2 separate regions of the Homo sapiens genome follow, and region 2 is linked to region 1. The links are contacts of gene promoters, found by promoter capture Hi-C in blood cells and fetal thymus (Javierre and others, 2016). All regions are on one chromosome and are shown on one strand. Each heading gives the region's core, a stretch centred on a gene start or on the middle of the fragment in contact. The rest is flanking DNA. Distances are from core to core; before and after follow the strand shown.

What was found. Contacts are between HindIII fragments. The CHiCAGO score rates a contact against its expected background, and 5 or more counts as called.
Region 2: a fragment that was not itself captured here is called in contact with the fragment with the promoter of TSPEAR-AS1 in region 1 in 1 of 17 cell types (fetal thymus); the score reaches 5.2 in fetal thymus.

The regions. Positions count from the first base shown.
Region 1 is chr21:44,503,783-44,508,702 of GRCh38, reverse strand. It overlaps TSPEAR-AS1 (TSPEAR antisense RNA 1), which reads right to left and starts at 2,659. Exons shown (of 7, transcript NR_103707.1): 1 at 2,375-2,659; 2 at 1,604-2,056; 3 at 394-666. It overlaps TSPEAR (thrombospondin type laminin G domain and EAR repeats), which reads left to right. Exons shown (of 12, transcript NM_144991.3): 11 at 3,822-3,923. RefSeq lists an enhancer at 1-316. The HindIII fragment of the contact is 6,455 bases long and covers 235-4,920 here.
Region 2 is chr21:45,126,055-45,131,455 of GRCh38, reverse strand. ADARB1 (adenosine deaminase RNA specific B1) reads right to left here. Exons shown (of 11, transcript NM_001112.4): 2 at 2,883-3,054. Among named protein-coding and RNA genes, the nearest start is that of ADARB1, 54 kb to the right of the region's middle. The HindIII fragment of the contact is 1,069 bases long and covers 2,042-3,110 here.

The sequences.
Region 1 (4,920 bases), core at 1,410-3,909:
GGGAACATGGAGGGTGGGTCTGTATGTACGAGAAAGTGATGGTTCCAGACCGACACGCTCCGTGGAGCCACAGGAGGTTGCGTGGGCACCACATTTTGGACAGTGGGCACTGAGAATCCACAACCATCCTGACCAGTGTGGGGCGTCCTCTGGGGTGGAATTCCGGTCTGTGAATAAACCTGCAATCGAATCCGTATTACCCAGATCCCAGAGCCAGGGGCCATGGGTCAAGCTTGGAGCTGGAATCTGGCCCATTCCCATCCTGGGATGGAGCAGGCGGCTTTCCCAGGTTTCCTCGGGTTTCATGCACTCCTATTTCATTCGGTAACAATTCACCTGCCCCTCCTGGGCACTGGGCTCTAATCTCAGCTTGAGACACACAACAACACATACCTTTAGACCCTTCGAGGGGAAGAGTCTCCAAGATGAACTGCTCTGTGGAAAGGGCTGGGTGAGGTGCAGTGAAATCTTGTGTCCCCAGTGCGGAGGAGCGAGCCGGGCTGCTGTGTGCCGCTCAGCTGTGCGTGCCCACGGACGTGCAGAGAAGACTCGGGAAGGGAGTGCCCTCTCCGTCAGCAGTCACCCTAGGACCGGGAGGGCTGCAGGGGTATGTAGACAGGCCAGGAAGGACTTTCCCTATTTGCCCTGTTACTTCTGAACTCCTGGCTTTACAAAGGATGACAATGTTAACTTACTAATATCTTACTTATATGATTTTTAAAAATTAAAAAAAGAACACTCATAATAAAGAAAAAGAGCCAGCGGCGGTGTCTGCTGGGGGCACTGGGGATTCCGGGGTGACCTGCCTGTGGGCTCCGTGGCCCCTGCGTGGCCTGGCAGCCATGGCAGGAGAAACAGGCACGGGGCGGCGGTGGCAGTTGTGTGTCCCCAGCACGAATCCACGCCATCCAATGTCAACGCCGAGAACAAAACAAACATTAGGCTTTTTAGAACAACATTTAGAATAAGACAAGTTGGAGAATGAATTGTGATTAAAAATTAGTCATGGACATGATGCCCAGTCTAGAAACAGATGAGGCAGACGCCTCGGGATTTGAAAGCTGCGGGAACTGACAGAACACAGCTACACACTCGCGACTTATGGCCCTGTCACCACTGGACAGTGGTATGGACAGTTTATGAACTAAATTATGAAACACAGAAAGTACTTACCAATTAATTAAGGTAATGTTTAATAATTACCATCAAAACAGCACACACAAGTCAAACTCCTAGCCCTTCTACCCAGCATGGGGAATTCCCTACACTTCCCGGAGACGTGATGTGGCCTCACCAAGTCCAAAACCCTATTCAAGGGCGCTGAGGGGTTTTGTGGCTTCTGTGTGTAACCTTGGCTCTGACTGCCTTCAAATGGTCGCTTGTGTTTGCTTTTTAGATTCAGTAGTTCTATTAAATCCACAGATATGTGCAGCCATGGCTGCAGACAACTCTGGAACATTCTCATCCCCTCACAAGGAGCCCCCCACACCCTTTTCCAGCCCCTCCCTCCCAACTGGGCACCCCCGGGCCCACTTCCTGTCTCTGTGATTTCCCGTTCTGGACACTGCACAGAAATGGACTCGTAGAGCCGTGGCCTCTGTACCTGGCTTTTTCTCGCAGCACCGTGTCCTCCGGGTTGGTGGTGTGGCCGCGCGGCTCAGAGCATCCCCCTTCTCATGGCTGAGTCACACTTCATCCGTCCATTTGTCCGATGATGGGCATTTGCCAGAGGGCGTGATTCTGAAGAATAACATCTGTCCTACAGCGAGTGTGACCCAGGGCTGCTTTGGAGGCAGAATCGGGCACTAGATGCCTTATTTTGTGGTGAAACCGAAGCCGGCTTCTGATGTGAGCCTCGGTGCAGCCGGACAGGATCTTCCACCACTGGTACATCCGACGTGGCCGCTTGTCTTCCTCGGGTCTGGGTTTCAGAGCTCAGATCCGACTGAGGAGTAACCCCGCGGATTCACACTGACCCGGGGCCCGCGGCCGTGCCTCCAGACCAGAGCATGTGATCACAGGCGTCCTCGTCCTCCTCCCAGCGAGCTGGCACGGGCTGCATGGGAACCAAATCATAACCCACCATTAATGGAGGTGGCTCCAGATGTCACCCTGACTGACCGAAGGAGTGAGGAGCCCAAGGCCCCATGGGCTCTGCCCGCCCTGCCTGTCACTGGACACCTCTGTGATCCCTCCCTCTCCCAAGGCCCTGTCTGAGCCCCTGCTGCAGGCCGGCCCCACAACTGCCTGCAGGGAAGCACCGGGATGAGGCCCCTCTGCTGCCTGAACTGGCCACAGCCCTGAGGCTGCTGAATACAGAGGCACCCGCCTGGCCTGCATGTCAGCAGGACGCCTGCGTGTGCATGGCTTCGACCTCCATTTCCTCATCTTGAGATGTGGGGCTGACGCTGACAGCTCGGCAGGTGGGCTCCTGGGGAGGAAAGGATCCAGGGGAGCCGCTCCTCAGACCCCTCAAACCGAGCCATCCCCAAGCACAGATGCATCCTTGGTAAATTCAGGTGAGACTCCTAAGACAGGACACAGCAAATTTGTTTGCAACAAGAAACAGCTTCTGCTTCTAGGAGAACATCTGTGAACGAGCAGGTCCTGCAGGTCCTGTAGGCACCTCCTGGAGTGACCTCACGGCCGCTGACCTCACAGCTGAAGACACAATGCTGAGAGAAGAAACCAGGCACAGAGGCCACAGCACTGTGACGCCATTTCTGCACAGTGTCCAGAGCGGGAAACCAAGCTCCTGCCTCCAGCAGGCACCAGCAGCCTGAGACTTTTTCTCTGATTGTTTCAACCTCTTAAAAGTGGACTTTTGTACCCCGGTGTTCATAGCAGCAGCATTCACAGTAGCCACATGGAGGAAATTCCCCAAGTGTCTGTCAGCGGATGGACAAACACAACGTGTCCATTCACACAGCGGAGCGTTACTCGGCCTTAGAAAGGAAGGCGATTCTGACACACAGTGCGACACGGATGAACCTTGAGTCACTGGAGTCTCAGCTAAGGCAGACACAAAGGACAAATACCGTGCGATTCCATTCATATGAGGTCCCTAGAGTGGTCAAATTCATAGAGACAGAAAGTGGCGTGGTGGGTGCCGGGGCTGGGGGGGGGGGGGGGGGGAGGGGGGAGGGGGTGATGTTTACTGGGTGCAGAGCTTCGGTTTTGCAGGATGAAGGCGTTCTGGAGGTGGATGGTGGGGGCGGCCACACAGCAGTATGAATGTGCTTAATGCCCCTGATCTGTGCACCTAAAGATGGTTGAGGTGGGAAATGTTATGTTATATGTATTTTACCATAATTTAAAATTTGAGGCCAGGCATGGTGGCTCATGCCTGTAATCCCAGCACTTTGGGAGGCTGAGGTGGGCAGATCACTTGAGGTCAGGAGTTCAAGACCAGCCTGGACAACATGGTGAAACCCTGTCTGTACTACAAATACAAAAATTAGCCGGGCGTGGTGCCGCACACTTGTAATCCCAGCTACTCGGGAGGCTGAGGCAGGAGAATCGCTTGAATCCGAGAGGCAGAGGTTGCCGTGAGCCGAGATCTCGCCACTGCACTCCAGCCTGGGTGACAGAATGAGACTCCATCTCAAAAATAAAATAAAATAAAATTTGAAATTTTTTTTAAGCAAACAACTAATTTACATTTTCCTGGAATAGACCAACACATATGTGACTGTGAGAAAATCACTCCCCACTTTGGCCCCGGCTCCTCCTCTATAAATTTTGGAGGTAGCTTCTGGCCAATCCCCCAGTTCCCTGGCGATGTCTGTTGTGTCCTAATATCCACCCACTTGTTCCTGCAGTGCTCTGGACTGGGAGTTTTTCTCGGTGGGAGAAGATTATTTCCTGGTGGTGGCCAACTCCTTCGATGGGCGTACCTTCTCGGTGAACAGTATTATTTACAGGTAATGAGCTGCCGAGGCCGGCCTCCTCCCAGAGCCTTGCTTCCCCACTGTGGGCTCACCGAGGCCGGCCTCCTCCAAGAGACTTGCTTCCCCACTGTGGGCTCACCGAGGCCGGCCTCCTCCAAGAGACTTGCTTCCCCACTGTGGGCTCACCGAGGCCGGCCTCCTCCAAGAGACTTGCTTCCCCACTGTGGGCTCACCGAGGCCGGCCTCCTCCAAGAGACTTGCTTCCCCACTGTGGGCTCACCGAGGCCGGCCTCCTCCCAGAGCCTTGCTTCCCCACTGTGGGCTCACCGAGGCCGGCCTCCTCCAAGAGCCTTGCTTCCCCACTGTGGGCTCACTGAGGCCAGCTTCCTCCCAGAGCCTTGCTTCCCCCGAGGGCTCACCGAGGCCAGCTTCCTCCAAGAGACTTGCTTCCCCCGAGGGCTCACCGAGGCCAGCTTCCTCCCAGTGCCTTGCTTCCCCCTAAGGGCTCACCGAGGCCGGCTTCCTCCCAGAGCCCTGCTTCCCCCTGAGGGCTCACCGAGGCCAGCTACCCCCCGAGGGCTCACCGAGGCCGGCTTCCTCCCAGAGTCTTGCTTCCCCACTGTGGGCTCACCAAGGCCGGCCTCCTCCAAGAGACTTGCTTCCCCACTGTGGGCTCACTGAGGCCGGCTTCCTCCCAGAGCCTTGCTTCCCCACTGTGGGCTCACCAAGGCCAGCTTCCCCCCAAGGGCTCACCGAGGCCAACTTCCTCCCAGAGCCTTGCTTCCTGCTGAGGGCTCACCGAGGCCGGCTTCCTCCCAGAGCCTTGCTTCCCCGCCGAGGGCTCACCAACTCCGGCCTCCTCCCAGAGCCTTGCTTCCCGCCGAGGGCTCACCGAGGCCAGCTTCCTCCCAGCACATTGCTTCCCCCCTGTGGGCTCACCAAGGCCGGCTTCCCCCCAAGGGCTCACCAAGGCCGGCCTCCTCCCAGCGCCTTGCTTCCCCCCGAGGGCTCACCGAGGCCAGCTTCCTCC
Region 2 (5,401 bases), core at 1,327-3,826, 620 kb before region 1:
TTCTCTAAGCCCAGCCCAGCTGAGTTTTGGATTGACACAATGCATTTTTCTATACTTTTAACATACACTCAATGTTCCAGAAATACAGAGACTACCTAGAGACAGGGAAGACTGAACACTGCTTCCTTCAGGTTTGACCATTTCAGAAAGTAATGCCACTCAGCTCTATTGCTTATGGTTTTCAGGTCACCAGCTCAGTACCTACCCCACATCTGCCTGCACTGACAGGCCCACACCACTCAGTGATCCGAGTGAAAGCAGCAGTGCCTAAATGTCCATACAGTGGCATAGAAAACTATTTTATTATGTATCTTCAGTTTCTCTTTATATTACATTTCAGCATGACACTGCTTTTTAACATTATATGGCTATAATTATATAAGGTAATATCTTCTGTGAACTTCATTTTAAAATAAAAAGATGAGTTAATAAATATTTGTTACAAAAAGAAGATGTGGTGTGGGGTGGCAATGAGAAAGACTGAGAAAGCTTTCCAGGCTTCAACAAGAGTCAAGGTTTCCCGAAGCCCTCCTCAGCAATTCCTCTTGCGCAGGGGAATTACTATAGGAATTCTATCTATTGTATCCCCCCAAGATGTTCCAGCCTCAGAAGATAATCTCATGTATAAAAACACAAGAAATAACTTCAGTCTTTTCAAGCAAAAAGAAAGGCAAAAACAGTGAGTCTGCCTGAAACTAAAAATAACTCCCCACAGCCCTGCAGTGCGACCTGTGGCTACACGGCACAGACAGCACTAAGGCAGGACCCGGGAGGGAGGCTCAGAGGGAAACCAGACAGTGCAGTGAGGCTGAGGACGGCCGTGCTTCCAAAGATGTTCCAGCCAAAATCTTTCATGTTTATTTATTTTTATTTAAACCACCCTGAAAAGGGAAAAGAATAACACGCCAAACTGTTTGCTGCCGAAATTAGCTCTTATTTTATGAAAGAAAGGAAATACACGATTTCTATTCGCAGCTAGCATTTAGTAACACAGAATCAGGAGGAGGAGATATGACTCATCATGTCGTAATATTTTATAATTTCCAGCTCTTCAGTTTTGCTTTCTCAGCACATGCTTTAGATATCTCCTTCTGGCCTGATTATTTTTTCTATGCTTTTAAGAACAATTTATTGGTGCAAAGGATTATAAATAATTCATTTCTCCAATGCACAGTTATATTATATAAAAATACTTGCTATTTCACATATATGGCATAATTAATGCAATGTTTTACTTCTGTGGCATGTTAAAAATAGGTAGTCACAAATCGACACTTAACTTAGCAATATTAAACCACAACGTCTCTTTCAGACTCATTCCAACTCTGGGATCCTCATTCTTTCAATAACCTCTGGTTACAGAGAAGCTGATTTCCTATCACTAATTAAGCTAGAAGAAGCGCTGTGGCTGAAAATAAAATCCCATCCCACAGCACAAGCCATGATAAAGGTGACCTGATTTTGACCTTCCCATACTTGGACTGCCTGTGTACCCCCCCAAAAAAAGCATCGGTTGAAGATAAAGCCTCCTTTAAAGGTCTCGCTAGGGAACCAGTTACCTGAAATTCCTGACATTTACAGACAGAAATGGCAAGCAGGACCTTTGCTGGCACAAACTCAAAACCCAGTAGTCAGACATGGGTGTGTCTCTACTCCCCAAAGACGGCGTCCCCCCTAGGCTCCCAGCCACTCTCATCCATCCACGCTCACGCCCTGGTGACCGCCCCCTACCTATGGCTCTGCACCAGCCACTCCCATCTGTCCACACTCACGCCCTGGTGACCGCTCCCTCCCCACAGCTCTGCATGCCATCCCGAACTCCCAGGCGGGAGCACGGCTGTGTCCAGTGAGCGGCTCACATGAGAGCTGCCAAGCGAGCGCCTGGTCCCTGCCATGCCCAGAGGGCATCTGAGGCCCAGTGGGCGCTCGTCAGTATCCACAGAGCAAATGGACACAGGAGCACACCTGCGTTCCTCCAGCCAGCAGCAGCCCTCTGACACCTTCTCTTTCCCCTCATCTCATCTGAACCCATGAAAAAGCTTCCCTGGAAATGTACAACTGGACTTCCTGAGTTAGTCACTCAGCTGCTCATAAGTAAATTAATCTGACACCATACTAATTTTACTGGGATTTTAGTATTTGTCACAACTTCTCTCAAAAGCAGACGCTGAATCATGAGATAGTCGCCAAAAATAAGTACTAAAGAAATGTTCTTCTTTTTTTTTTTGAGAAAGAGTCTTGCTCTGTCACCCAGGCTGGAATGCAACGGCATGATCTCAGCTCACTGCAGCCTCTGCCTCCCGGGTTCAAGCGATTCTCCTGCCTCAGTCTCCCGAGGCTGGGACTACAAGCGTGCACCATCACACCTGGCTAATTTTTGTATTTTTGGTAGAGATGGGGTTTCGTCACGTTGGCCAGGCTGGTCTCAAACTCCTGGCCTCAAGTAATCTGCCTGCCTCAGCCTCCCAATGTGCTGGGATTACAGGAAAATTTTCTTTTAATTACTCCTAAGAAAATAATAATTGATGGTAAAAGGCTTTCACCAAGTCTAGTGCCCGGCATGAAGCACTGACTCAATAAATGGTGAACTGACCCCAAAGAGGGCAGCAAGTGCCACACATGCCACTGGAGGGCAGCAGGTGCCACACATGCCACTGGAGGGCAGCAGGCACCACCCCAGAACAAGCAGGAGGGACTCATGGGTGAGCTAAGGCTGCAGTAAGATTAGAAATCAACCAACAGTAACAGATCATCTGTGCCGGGAAGTATTCAATAAAGCATCTTTCAAAGGCAAGCCAAAAGGCTTAATTAAGCGGTTTATATCAAGAAAAAGGCATTTCTACCAGTCAGATTTGATCAGATCTTTACAGGTTTTTACTCACCTTGAAATTTTTCTAGCTTTATGTCTGCTCTGATCCCAAGGCAGCTTCCTTCGGTGCGAGCGGACTGAGAGAGTATCTCAGCAGGACTGAAGTAAGCAGAACTCCGCGCTTGGCCAGTGTGTCTCCTTCAGTTGCCCCTTAAGCTCTCCATGCCAGCCTGAAAGGCTCCACTCTGTGTAACAGAGAGATTCGGTAACTTCACACTTGTTTGATTCAGTATCAAAAGCTTTGTCACCATTTCAGAAGTGAACTCTATAACAATAAATACTCTCCATGAAAAGTCTTCTAAATACAAATTTAAGTTATTTTAAATGTACTCTTCCGAATCTGTAAAGGGGATATGCGCAATCCATCACGTCTCCGTCCGTCTGCCTGCAGCAGGTAGAGGCACCTGTGACAGACGGAGGCAGATCGCTGCCAGCCCAACATCTCGGCATCAGCGGCACCAGGCCACACACTGAGGACTGGAGTCTCAGGCAGAATCTCACACGTACTCATCTTTTTTACAATTCAATATGCACACACCCCTACACATGCACACATGTGAATGTGAGTCCAGATACAGAGACGCACCATCCCTGCACGTGCTCTGCCCGGGTTTGGAAGCTACAGGCCACCTCTGCTTCTGAAGCAGAGGTTGTGAAACAGTATCTCCATCTAGTTTCTGCTCTGTGTGAAAGCGTTTTCAACCAGCAAGCCATTAGAGAAAATGTTTCAACATGCTAATATAATTATAAAACCTCAATATGGAGTATTAAAATTTTCTTCCTGAAAAGCAAACTGATATCCAAAAGAAGGGGAAGTCTGCAATGGGTTTCTCCATTGCAGAGTTCCAAAGAGAAGTCTCTGGGAGGTGTGTCCAGGGGTGAGCGGGTTTCTGAGTGGGAACCTGGAGGAAGGAGGTGAAGTGTGGGATAAGGTGCGCGTGAAAGTGGCTCGACTCTCGCTATGCAGACTTGGCCAGGCCATCACAATGCGTTCCTGCTGCCCCGGTCGCTGCTGCAGTCCTCAGAGGAGATTGGAGGCTACCTTCCAAACCTCCCACCTGTGACCAGCTGACATTCATCTACAACACACGTCAGCTCGTCTGCTGGGACAGACCTAAGACACAGAGACAAGCTCACCTGTGTCCTGCACTAGCACCATCAAGTCAAATGGGCTGTCACTGAAAATGCTCTATCAGCCTGGAATTACAGGTCACAGAGTCATCTTGTCCAGCACAGAGAATGAGGGCCACATGTCCAGAACTGTCCCCACTATCAATGACCCCCATCATCCCCACACCAGATTCAAGCTCCCAAATCACCCTCCCCAGCGGTCCCAATCACCACGCCTGGGTGGAGAGTGTCAAGAAGTGCAAGGACGTTGGCCTCTGACCTTCAGCGTTGCCTCCACTCAGTCCGAATCCAGCTCCACCACAGCCCCTCCCCAGTGGGCAGAGAGCAAGGGCCCCGAGTGAGCATGAGCTGAACAAGCTTCTCTGGAGATGGCACCTAGCCCCTCCCTCAATCCAAAGAGCCACAAAGAAGTAAAATCCATTCTAGAAGCTTTACACACCAAAAAGTCCACCGCCTAAACAGAGAAAGAAAAACACAGCAGAAAGGACATGAAACCAAGATTTACAGAACTGGGTTCTAGTGCCCACATCATGTCCCACCAACTCTGCAAGCCTGGCCAAGAAATCTGACCTCCCTGGGCCGTCTGCAGGATGGGAAACTGCATGGGAAGCCCAGCCACTTTGAGGAGGGAGCAGGTGATATGCAGAGTGGGTTTTGGAAGCTGCAAAGTCTAAACATCAAGTGTGAGAATGGTTGCCTCCCATTTGAGTACACTCATACCAACTGAGGTAAAACTGCCATACTTGCCAGGAGTATTGCAAGGGGTTTCAGGAAAAGCATGGCTTCCAGGAAAGAGGGGTCCAGGCCACCACCCTAGACCTCAGCCTTGCAGTCGTGTGACTTGAACAGTGACTCAGCCCCTTCCAGGCTTGCTCCTATGAGGACAGGACGAGGACACAAGGAACACCCGCCGCAGATGGTGCCGTGAGGATTAAATGGAGGAACAGATGTAGAGTGCTTGGCCCCGTGACTAAGATCACAGTAGGGGCGCAATAAAAGATGGTCAAAAACACCGGAGTCTTTTTGTCATGGAGGGAGTGGAGAGGAGCAGGTGACAGAGACAGCAGACAGCGGCTGAAAAAACAAAACAGTGGAGAGATGGAAGATCTGCACAACACAATTAACAAGCTGCATGGTGGTCACATGCAAGACGCTGCTCCTAACAGTGCATCACACATCAGCTCCTCAAGGACACATGAGCCACTTCTAAAAATAGACCATATCCCAGCCGTAAAGAAAATCTCAACATATTTCAGGTGGCTGAAATCAGACAGAGCTCATCCTCTGATCGTAATACCATGAGCCTAGAAATTAACAAGCCAAGTATAACTAGAAAGTCCCATATGTCTGAGAGTTCAGCAATACACTTCTAAATAATCCATAGACAAAAGAAAATAATCA